Regions from separate parts of the Homo sapiens genome. Here regions 2 and 3 are each linked to region 1. The links are contacts of gene promoters, found by promoter capture Hi-C in human tissues and cell types (Jung and others, 2019). All regions are on one chromosome and are shown on one strand. Each heading gives the region's core, a stretch centred on a gene start or on the middle of the fragment in contact. The rest is flanking DNA. Distances are from core to core; before and after follow the strand shown. Region 1 holds the start of C16orf54 (chromosome 16 open reading frame 54). Region 2 has its middle 28 kb from the start of LAT. Region 3 holds the start of SEPHS2 (selenophosphate synthetase 2).

What was found. The method cuts DNA at HindIII sites, captures the fragments that hold promoters and counts their contacts. A contact is called where the count stands out against the background at its distance.
Region 2: a fragment that was not itself captured here is called in contact with the fragment with the promoter of C16orf54 in region 1 in 1 of the 25 tissues and cell types used here (IMR-90 fibroblasts).
Region 3: the fragment with the promoter of SEPHS2 here is called in contact with the fragment with the promoter of C16orf54 in region 1 in 1 of the 25 tissues and cell types used here (spleen).

The regions. Positions count from the first base shown.
Region 1 is chr16:29,744,498-29,747,602 of GRCh38, reverse strand. C16orf54 (chromosome 16 open reading frame 54) reads left to right here and starts at 1,613. Exons shown (of 2, transcript NM_175900.4): 1 at 1,613-1,692; 2 at 2,652-3,105. The coding sequence starts at 2,652. LOC124903673 (a long non-coding RNA gene) reads right to left here and starts at 2,356. Exons shown (of 2, transcript XR_007065046.1): 1 at 2,218-2,356. RefSeq lists enhancers at 677-746, 1,274-1,323. The HindIII fragment of the contact is 21,250 bases long and covers 1-3,105 here.
Region 2 is chr16:29,011,207-29,014,311 of GRCh38, reverse strand. No RefSeq gene overlaps it. Among named protein-coding and RNA genes, the nearest start is that of LAT, 28 kb to the right of the region's middle. The HindIII fragment of the contact is 6,909 bases long and covers 1-3,105 here.
Region 3 is chr16:30,444,277-30,447,381 of GRCh38, reverse strand. It overlaps SEPHS2 (selenophosphate synthetase 2), which reads left to right and starts at 1,508. Exons shown (of 1, transcript NM_012248.4): 1 at 1,508-3,105. The coding sequence starts at 1,655. The coding sequence ends at 3,001. RefSeq lists a silencer at 1,924-2,043 and an enhancer at 1,370-2,316. The HindIII fragment of the contact is 9,223 bases long and covers 1-3,105 here.

The DNA.
Region 1 (3,105 bases), core at 364-2,863:
TATTTATTTAATTTATTTATTTTGAGACAGAGTCTCGCTCTGTTGCCCAGGCTGGAGTGGAATGGCACGATCTCGGCTCACTGCACCGGGTTCAAGCGATTCTCCTGCCTCAGCCTCCTGAGTAGTTGGGGTCATAGGCGTGCGGCACCACGCCCGGCTAATTTTTGTATTTTTAGTAGAGACGGGGTTTTGCCATGTTGGCCAGGCTGCTCCCAAACTCCTGACCTCAGGTGATCCACCCGCCTCGGTCTCCCAAAGTGCTGGGATTACAGGCATGAGCCACCTCGCCCAGCCCAGGGATTTCTATCTATTCTTCCACCACCCTGGCCACTACATGCTCACCCACACATACATTGGTCATGCGACTTTGGTCATGAAATCTCTTTTCTTTAAGCCTTACTTTTGTCATCTGTGGATGAGTCAAACTAGAGAATCTCAGAAAGTCACCTGGACTCCAGAGCCTGATGACATCTTGTCACACTCTGCTCCAGGCTCCTCCCACCCTCAGCAGCAGGAAAGAGGGACAGACATGAGGATGGTCAGGGTTTTGGAAACAGGCCCACGCCTGTTTTTATACCCTGGACTCCTCTCAGAGGCTTGACATTTTTGTTACCCAAGCCTCACCTCACTGATATTTTCCAACCAAAATGGGGGCTAAATGGTCTGAAGAGAGAGAGACTTATGTTAATTAAAAGTATGAGGCAGGGGCCAGTGTGGTAGCTCACACCTGTAATCCCAGCACTTTGGGAGGCTGAGGCAGGAGGATCTCTTGAGGCCAGGAGCTTGAGACCAGCCTGGGCAACATAGCAAGAGCCCATCTCTACCAGAAAAAAAAAAAAAAGGTGTGAAGCAAGCTGGCCAAGCAGGGGGTGCCTGTGGGGGCTGCATGGCAGGAGCAGATCTGGGGAGGCACCGTGGATAAGACAAGGCAGGATGGGGTGGGGCATCCTCCCAGGAGGAACGGGGGAGGCACCATGGTTCTCTGGGAATGTACGGGCTAAAGTCCCAGTGTCCTATTTCTTTTTCTTTTCTTTTCTTTTCTTTTTTTTTAAGACGGAGTCTCACTCTGTTGCCCAGGCTGGAGTGTGGTGGCACGATCTCAGCTCACTGCAACCTCCGAGTCCCGGGTTCAAGCGATTCTCCCTGCCTCAGCCGCCTGAGCAGCTGAGATTACAAGTGCCCGTCACCATGCCCAGCTAATTTTTGTATTTTTCAGTAGAGATGGGGTTTCGCCATGTTGGCAGGCTGGTCTCGAACTCCTGACCTCAGGTGACTTGCCCACCTTGACCTCCCAAAATGCTGGGATTACAGGGGTGAGCCACTGTGCCTGGCCCCGGCGTCCTCTTTCTCAGCTTTTCGGTGAATGTTCTGGGGCTCAGGGCCTGGCTATGGGGTGACACTAAGTTCAACAGAACCATTGCCCATTCCAGCCCCACCTTACCCCAGGAAAAGCCTCCTCACCGCAGTGACCACATCCCCTTGGGTTGCTTTGGAAACAAACACTCCCCAGGGGCAGACGAGTTGGGGCACAGTTGCCCAGCAACAGGCGGTGCCCTCCCTTCCGCCTTCATCCGAGGCCGGGCCTCTACGTCTGAGAGGCGGACCGCCCTGCACCCTCCAAGCCTGCACCTCTTAGTCCAGCACCAGGAAGAGTGGCTCTAGGAGGGAGAGGAGCCCAGGGACTGACCCAAGGTGAGTTGAGGGGTGCAGGAGGCCCCCTGCAGATGGAGGATGTGGGGGACAGAGAGGTGTGCAGAGACAAACGAGAGATAGAGACAGGCCAGAGCCTGGGCAAAGCTGGGGAGCCCAGGAGGGGTGCAGAGGCGCCTCCGGAGGCCTGGCCCGGCCCGGCCCGGCAGCAGATTCCGTGGAGCCTATGAGAGCAAGATCAAGTCCGAGGAGAATGGTGAGGGGCGAAGGAGCCTCAAGGGGCCAGCGGAGGTGCTGGCGGCAGGCGGTGGGGGAGACACACGCAGGGGAGCCAGTGGGAGGGGAGGTTCTCATTTCTTCACCCACCACTTCCTCTCTAGGTCTGAGCAAGACTTGAGGGGGCCGAGTGGGGAGGAAAGAAGCCCTTGAGACCTTTCTTGTCTGAGGCACCCTGGGGTCTGGGAGGGAAATGGGGATTCTGGAAAGGCCTGGAGAGCCAGGCAGGAGGGCCTGGCTGTGCCCCGAGGTAGGCTGCCTGTCCTCCCACCCCACCTGGCTCACGCTTACCCTTTCTGGTCCCTCTTGCTTCTCTGTCTCTCCAGAATGTTCTTTTTCATTTTTGAGAAAGGGTCTTGCTCTATTGCCCAGGCTGGAGGACAGTGGTGCAATCTGGGGTCACTGCAGCTTCAAACTCCTGGGCTCAAGTAATCCTCCCACCTCAGCTTCCTGTGTAGCTGGGACTACAGGTGTGAGCCACCACACCCAGCTAGTTTTTAAATTATTTTTAGAGATGAGGTTTCACTGTGTGTCCAGGCTGGTCTTGAACTCCTGGGCTCAAGTGATCCTCCCGCCTCGACCTCTCAAAGTGCTGGGATTCCAGGCATGAGCCCCCATGCCCAGCCCTTCTCCCAGGCTTTCCTGGACACCTGCTGCCTCTCTCTCATCTTGGTTGTGCCCCCTCTGCCTCATTTACTTCCTCTTCTCACCCCTGTGTCTCTCAGATGCCGTTGACTCCAGAGCCGCCCTCTGGGCGCGTGGAGGGGCCCCCCGCATGGGAAGCAGCCCCATGGCCCTCACTGCCCTGTGGGCCCTGCATCCCCATCATGCTGGTCCTGGCCACCCTGGCTGCGCTCTTCATCCTCACCACCGCTGTGTTGGCTGAACGCCTGTTCCGCCGTGCTCTCCGCCCAGACCCCAGCCACCGTGCACCCACCCTGGTGTGGCGCCCAGGAGGAGAGCTGTGGATTGAGCCCATGGGCACCGCCCGAGAGCGCTCTGAGGACTGGTATGGCTCTGCGGTCCCCCTGCTGACAGATCGGGCCCCTGAGCCTCCCACCCAGGTGGGCACTTTGGAGGCCCGAGCAACAGCCCCACCTGCCCCCTCAGCCCCAAATTCTGCTCCCAGCAACTTGGGCCCCCAGACCGTACTGGAGGTCCCAGCCCGGAGCACCTTCT
Region 2 (3,105 bases), core at 250-2,749, 730 kb after region 1:
TGGGTGACAGAGCGAGATTCTGTTTCAGAAAAAAAAAAAAAAACCACGGACCCCATATGATAATCAGGTCATTAAAGCTCACACATGTGGACTGTATATCGTGCATGTACTTAAAATTATGGGATGGAGGCAACACACAAGCTCACAGAGGTTGAGAAATAAATTAAACAACCCCACCCATCAATCAAAAGGCAAAAGTCATCTACTTGCTAAAGATTATGCAACTCAGGAAAGAAAACATATTGAAAGACTCAAAATACACCAAACTGGTGCTGATCTCATTTTGCAGAGGTCAGTCTGCTCTCCCCTCTCTGAGAGTGTGTTACTGTGCTTAGTAAACTTTGGCTTCTTGCTCTGTGTGTCTCCTCTGATTCTTTGTTCATAGCACCAAGAAACTGGGACTTTGGTAACATGATCTATTTTTTTTTTTTTTTTTTTTTTTTAGACAGTGTCTTGCTCTGTGGCCCTGGCTGGAGGGCAGTGGCTCAATGTCAGCTCACTGCAGTCTTGACCTCCTGGGCTCAAGCCATCCTCCCACCTCAGCCTCCCAAGTAGCTGGGACCATAGGCATGTGCCACCACACCTGACTAATTTTTTAATTTTTTGTAGAGACAGGGTCTCTCTATGTTACTCAAGCTGGTCTCAAATTTCTGGGCCCAAGCCATCCTCCCATCTTGGCCTCCCAAATGTTGGGATTACAGGCATGAGCCACTGCGCCCAGTCATTCCACCTCTTAATACCATCACGATGGCAATTAAACATGAGTTTTGGAGGGGACTTTTAATTGTAGCACCGTGCAATGGAATATTATTCAACCTTCAAAAGGAAGGAAATCCTATCGCACGCTATGGCATGGATGAATCTGGAGGACATTATGCTAATGAAATAAGCCAGTCACACACATGCAAAAACAAGAAACAGAAAGTAGACTGGCAGTTGCCAGGAGTTGTTGTTTAATGGGTAGGGAGTTTTAGTTTTGCAAAGATGAAAAACACTTTTGCAAGATGAAAAAGTTCTAGAGATCTGTTGCACAACGATGTGAATATACTTAACACTACTGAACTGTACACTTACAAATGGTTAAGATGGTAAATGTTATCTTATGTGGTGGGGTTTTTTTTAACCATAGCATCTAAAAAAATTAAACACGTTGGTGAGCAATCAGTTTGCAGTCTCTCCTTTAGACAGTGCTTTCTCTAAGGCTGGGAACGTACCACGTGTTAGGGCTGGAAGGAACTTGTTGTTAAGGGCCTCACGTGTTTGTCTTAAGCTCTTTTTTAATTCATTTGCTCAACATGATTGTCGAACAGCTACTCTGTGCCAAGCTCTTTGCTGGACCCTGGAGTGACAGAGATGAACAGGGAGCTCACAGTCCCAAGGAGGATAGACAAAAACACCAAATGTATAAAGAGATCAGCGTTATAGCCGGGTGCGGTGGTTCAAGCCTGTAATCCCAGCACTTTGGGAGGCCAAGGCTGGTGCATCACATGAGGACAGGAGTTCAAGACCAGCCTGGCCAACATGGTGAAACCCCATCTCTACTAAAAATACAAAAATTAGCCAGGCATGGTGGCACATGCCTGTAGTCCCAGCTACTTGGGAGGCTAGGGCAGAAGGATTGATTGCTTGAACCCAGGAGGTGGAGGTTGCAGTGAGCCAATATCATGCCATTGCACTCCAGCCTGGGCAACAGGGCCAGACAGACTCCATCTCAAAAAAAAAAGAGATCAGCATTAGGAAGTCAATTCAATGGGGTAATGAGATGCAGGGGGACTGAGATGGGAACACACACAGTTACATGGGGTGGAGGGTGAAGGCTCCTCCTAGCAGAGGAAACTTCAGCCAGATCCACATGATGGAAGGAGGAGGCCACGTGAGGCCATGGGGGCAGAGTTCCAGGCAGAGGGAACAGCAAGTGCAAAAACCCAGAGGAAGAAAAGAGCCTGGTGGTTTTGGGGTGTCGAGGAAGCAAAAAGGCCCACATGACTGACTCAGGGAGCAAGTGGGGGAGGTGGGTGGTTGAAATACTGCCAGCAGCCCCAATATACATGGAATGGGAAAAAGGCCACCTTTACCAGCGTAGACTTGTTTTGCAAATTCAAATGGATCATTATTTTCTATGGAAAAAATAATAAATTATGGCCAGACGTGGTGGCTCACACCTGTAATCCAGCACTTTGGGATGCCAAGGCAGGAGGATCACTTGAGCCCAAGAGGTTGAGGCTGCAGTGAGCCATCATTCACACCACTGCACTCCAGCCTGGGCAACAGAGCAAGACCCCATCTCTAAAAAAAGTCGATCAATTAATAAATAATAACAACAAACTGATTTGTCCTAGAGAAAGGCTAGGTCAACAGAAACCCCTGAAAGCCTCATATTTGCCTCGATACATTCAATGTCTGCTGAATCCCTGAATCAGCTTCTTGGAGTGGTTTACAAGCCATGGATTTGATCTGACTCCCTTCACCCCGACGCAGCAGGTGGGTGGGAGGAGCTCCACGCAAGGCTGGTGGAACAGGAGTCAGGCCCAGAGGTAGGGCGAGGAGGCCTGGGAGAAGAGTTCCGTCACCATGGTCCTTAATTACATTGGAGAAGCCTCAATTGTGGTTTCTGGAGGGACCTGTGTCCCACTTCATTTATGGGGAGAACTCTCTCCCCAACCTCCAGGCAGCCTGGACCTGGATGTGGAGCCTGGACTAGGCCAATCACAGGTGCTGGTGAACAGAGAGGAAGGGACAGTTAGGGCCAAGCCAGTGGCCCAACACAGAGCTGGGGTGTCTGGGCAGGGCAACAGTAGTCCCTGCTATGCACAACTGTCCCCCACGTCCCATTGGCTTTCCAGGACGGCTTCCCCACTCCAATGATCCCTTGTGCCTGGCTGGCCCTCCCATTAATCTCCAGCATTTAACAGCTCCAGTTGGTTTCCGTTGCTTGCCACCAGGAGCTCTGAAGGATGCAGAGGGTCTCTCAGGCTCTGGGGCCTCTGCAGAGCCTGCCACGGCTGCTGGGATCCCAGCGCTGCCACCCAGAGGCCTTGTGGTCTCGGACAGGTGATCGACGGTGCTGCCAGGCTGTGATTAAGAGATGGTAGAGCCAGAAAAGAG
Region 3 (3,105 bases), core at 259-2,758, 700 kb before region 1:
GACAGAGTCTCGCTCTTTCACCCAGGCTGGAGTGCAGTGGTGCAGTCTTGGCTCACTGCAACCTCTGCCTCCCAAGTTCAAGCAATTCTCCTGCCTCAGCCTCCCGAGTAGCTGGGATTATAGGCGCTCACCACCATGCCCGGCTAATTTTTGTATTTTTAGTAGAAACGGGGTTTCACCATATAGATCAAGCTGGCCTCGATCTCCCAACCTCGTGATCCACCCGCCTCGGCCTCCCAAAGTACTGGGATTACAGGTGTGAGCCACTGTGCCCGGCCCCGAAAATATCTATGTACAGTTTAAAGAACAACCATGTACCACGTACCCACCACCAGCCCAATGAACAGAATTAAACATAGCCCAGAAGCTCCCTATGTAGCCCTCCCTAGACATAGCCCCTATGCTGAGTCTTCTATTCATTTTCTTGTCTTTTAAAAAAGTTTTTATTGGCTGGGTGTGGTGGCTTATGCCTGTAATCCCAGCACTTTGGGAGGCCGAGGCCAGCAGATCACTTGAGGTCAGGAGTTTGAGACCAGCCTGGCCAACGTGGTGAAATCCCGTCTGTACTAAAAACGCAAAAATAAGCCGGGTGTGGTGGCGCACACCTGTAATCCCAGCTATTCAGGAGGCTGAAGCAGGAGAATCACTTGAACCTGGGAGGTGGAGTTTTTAATAGATATTGGCAAACTGCCCTTCATGGCTATATAAGATATATATATATATTTATTTACAGAGATATAGGAATTTTAGAATAGACCAGTCCTATGTAACCCACTCTGTTCCACAGATGGATGAGTCAACCGACGCGGAGAGTGACTCCACACAAAGCTGGTGGGAAACACCATTAGAATCCATGCAGGTGTCTGGACTTCCAGTCCTAAATCTCTCTTTTTGTGTGTGTCTGTGTGTGTGGGGGGGGTGTTTGTTTGTTTGTTATTGTTGTTTGTTTTAGAGACAGGTTCTTGCTCTGTCGCCCAGACTAGAGTGCAGTGGCGCGGACGCAGCTCACTGCAGCCTCGACCTCCTGAGTCCTAGAGTTCTTGAAGTTCCTGTTAACATTTCATTATATTGATGCTGCCTGCAGTTTGCTAACTTAATGGTAGTAGTTTAATTTCTAATTTCTCATGCTTTCTGTTTTTTCCCTTGGGCTATTTTGCCATCCTGGATCGATCATGTGCGCTGTCAAGTGACCTTTGGGACAATCCTGCCGATCATGAGGTTTGCCGAGTGACCAATCTTCCCTCGTCTACAATTTGCTGGACTTGGAAAAGTGACTGGAAGGGAGCAGAGTTCCGTCAGCCACTGCCAAGAAACCATTTAAATTACTAAGAGAGCGAAGGAAAGCACGTGACGTTCTGCAATCCCGTTGCAAGCGGTTTTGCAAGCCGGAGGTTGTTGCACCTTTTAGAGTCTAGGAAGCCCGCCTCTCGGTGGCGGAGTCGTCATTGGATGTTGCGGCTGTCAATCGCCAGGGCTATAAATAAGGGAGTCCGGCGGCTCCTCTATCAGGAAGATTGTGCATGCCGTGGGTCTGACGGCTTGAGTAGCGCTAGGGAGAATCCCTGCAGGTAATATTTGACTTTTGCTTCATATTAATCTGAGTGGAAAATAAAAGGGCCCTCTTCTCCTCTCGCTTCCCTGCCGGGCAGGCGCCATGGCGGAAGCCTCGGCGACGGGCGCCTGCGGAGAGGCGATGGCAGCGGCGGAAGGCTCCTCGGGCCCGGCGGGCTTGACTCTGGGCCGGAGCTTCTCGAACTACCGGCCCTTCGAGCCCCAGGCGTTGGGCCTCAGCCCGAGCTGGCGGCTGACGGGCTTCTCCGGCATGAAGGGCTGAGGCTGCAAGGTCCCGCAGGAGGCGCTGCTCAAACTCCTGGCGGGACTGACGCGGCCGGACGTGCGGCCCCCGCTGGGCCGGGGCCTGGTGGGTGGCCAGGAAGAGGCGTCCCAGGAAGCCGGCCTGCCGGCAGGAGCGGGCCCCAGCCCCACCTTTCCAGCCCTGGGCATCGGGATGGACTCCTGCGTCATCCCCCTGAGGCACGGGGGCCTGTCACTGGTGCAGACCACGGACTTCTTTTACCCCTTGGTAGAAGATCCCTACATGATGGGGCGCATAGCTTGTGCCAACGTGCTGAGTGACCTCTACGCCATGGGGATTACTGAGTGTGACAACATGTTGATGTTACTCAGCGTCAGCCAGAGTATGAGTGAGGAGGAACGCGAAAAGGTAACGCCACTCATGGTCAAAGGCTTTCGGGATGCGGCTGAGGAAGGAGGGACGGCAGTGACCGGTGGGCAAACGGTGGTCAACCCTTGGATTATAATCGGTGGAGTTGCCACTGTAGTATGCCAACCAAATGAGTTCATAATGCCGGACAGCGCCGTCGTTGGGGACGTGCTGGTGTTAACCAAACCGTTAGGAACCCAGGTTGCTGTCAATGCCCACCAATGGCTGGATAATCCTGAAAGATGGAATAAAGTAAAGATGGTGGTCTCCAGAGAAGAGGTGGAGCTGGCCTATCAGGAAGCCATGTTCAATATGGCTACCCTCAACAGAACTGCTGCAGGTTTAATGCACACATTTAATGCCCATGCGGCCACAGATATCACAGGCTTTGGCATTCTAGGACACTCCCAGAACCTTGCAAAACAACAAAGAAATGAAGTGTCCTTTGTTATTCATAATCTGCCAATAATTGCCAAGATGGCTGCCGTCAGCAAGGCCAGTGGACGGTTTGGGCTTCTTCAAGGAACCTCAGCTGAAACCTCTGGGGGATTACTGATTTGTCTGCCAAGAGAACAGGCGGCTCGCTTTTGTTCTGAAATCAAATCCTCCAAGTACGGAGAGGGTCACCAAGCGTGGATCGTTGGCATTGTGGAAAAGGGAAACCGAACGGCCCGGATCATTGACAAGCCGCGAGTTATTGAAGTCCTGCCTCGTGGGGCCACAGCTGCTGTTCTTGCTCCTGACAGTTCAAATGCCTCCTCTGAGCCTAGCTCGTGAGATGAAAGAACAGAAGTTGTTTGGACCTTAGAGCCATTGTCCACAATCACGGATGGTTCTCAAGAGTTGATTGTAAGAAATTTCCAAAGAAGGCTGCCTGCATA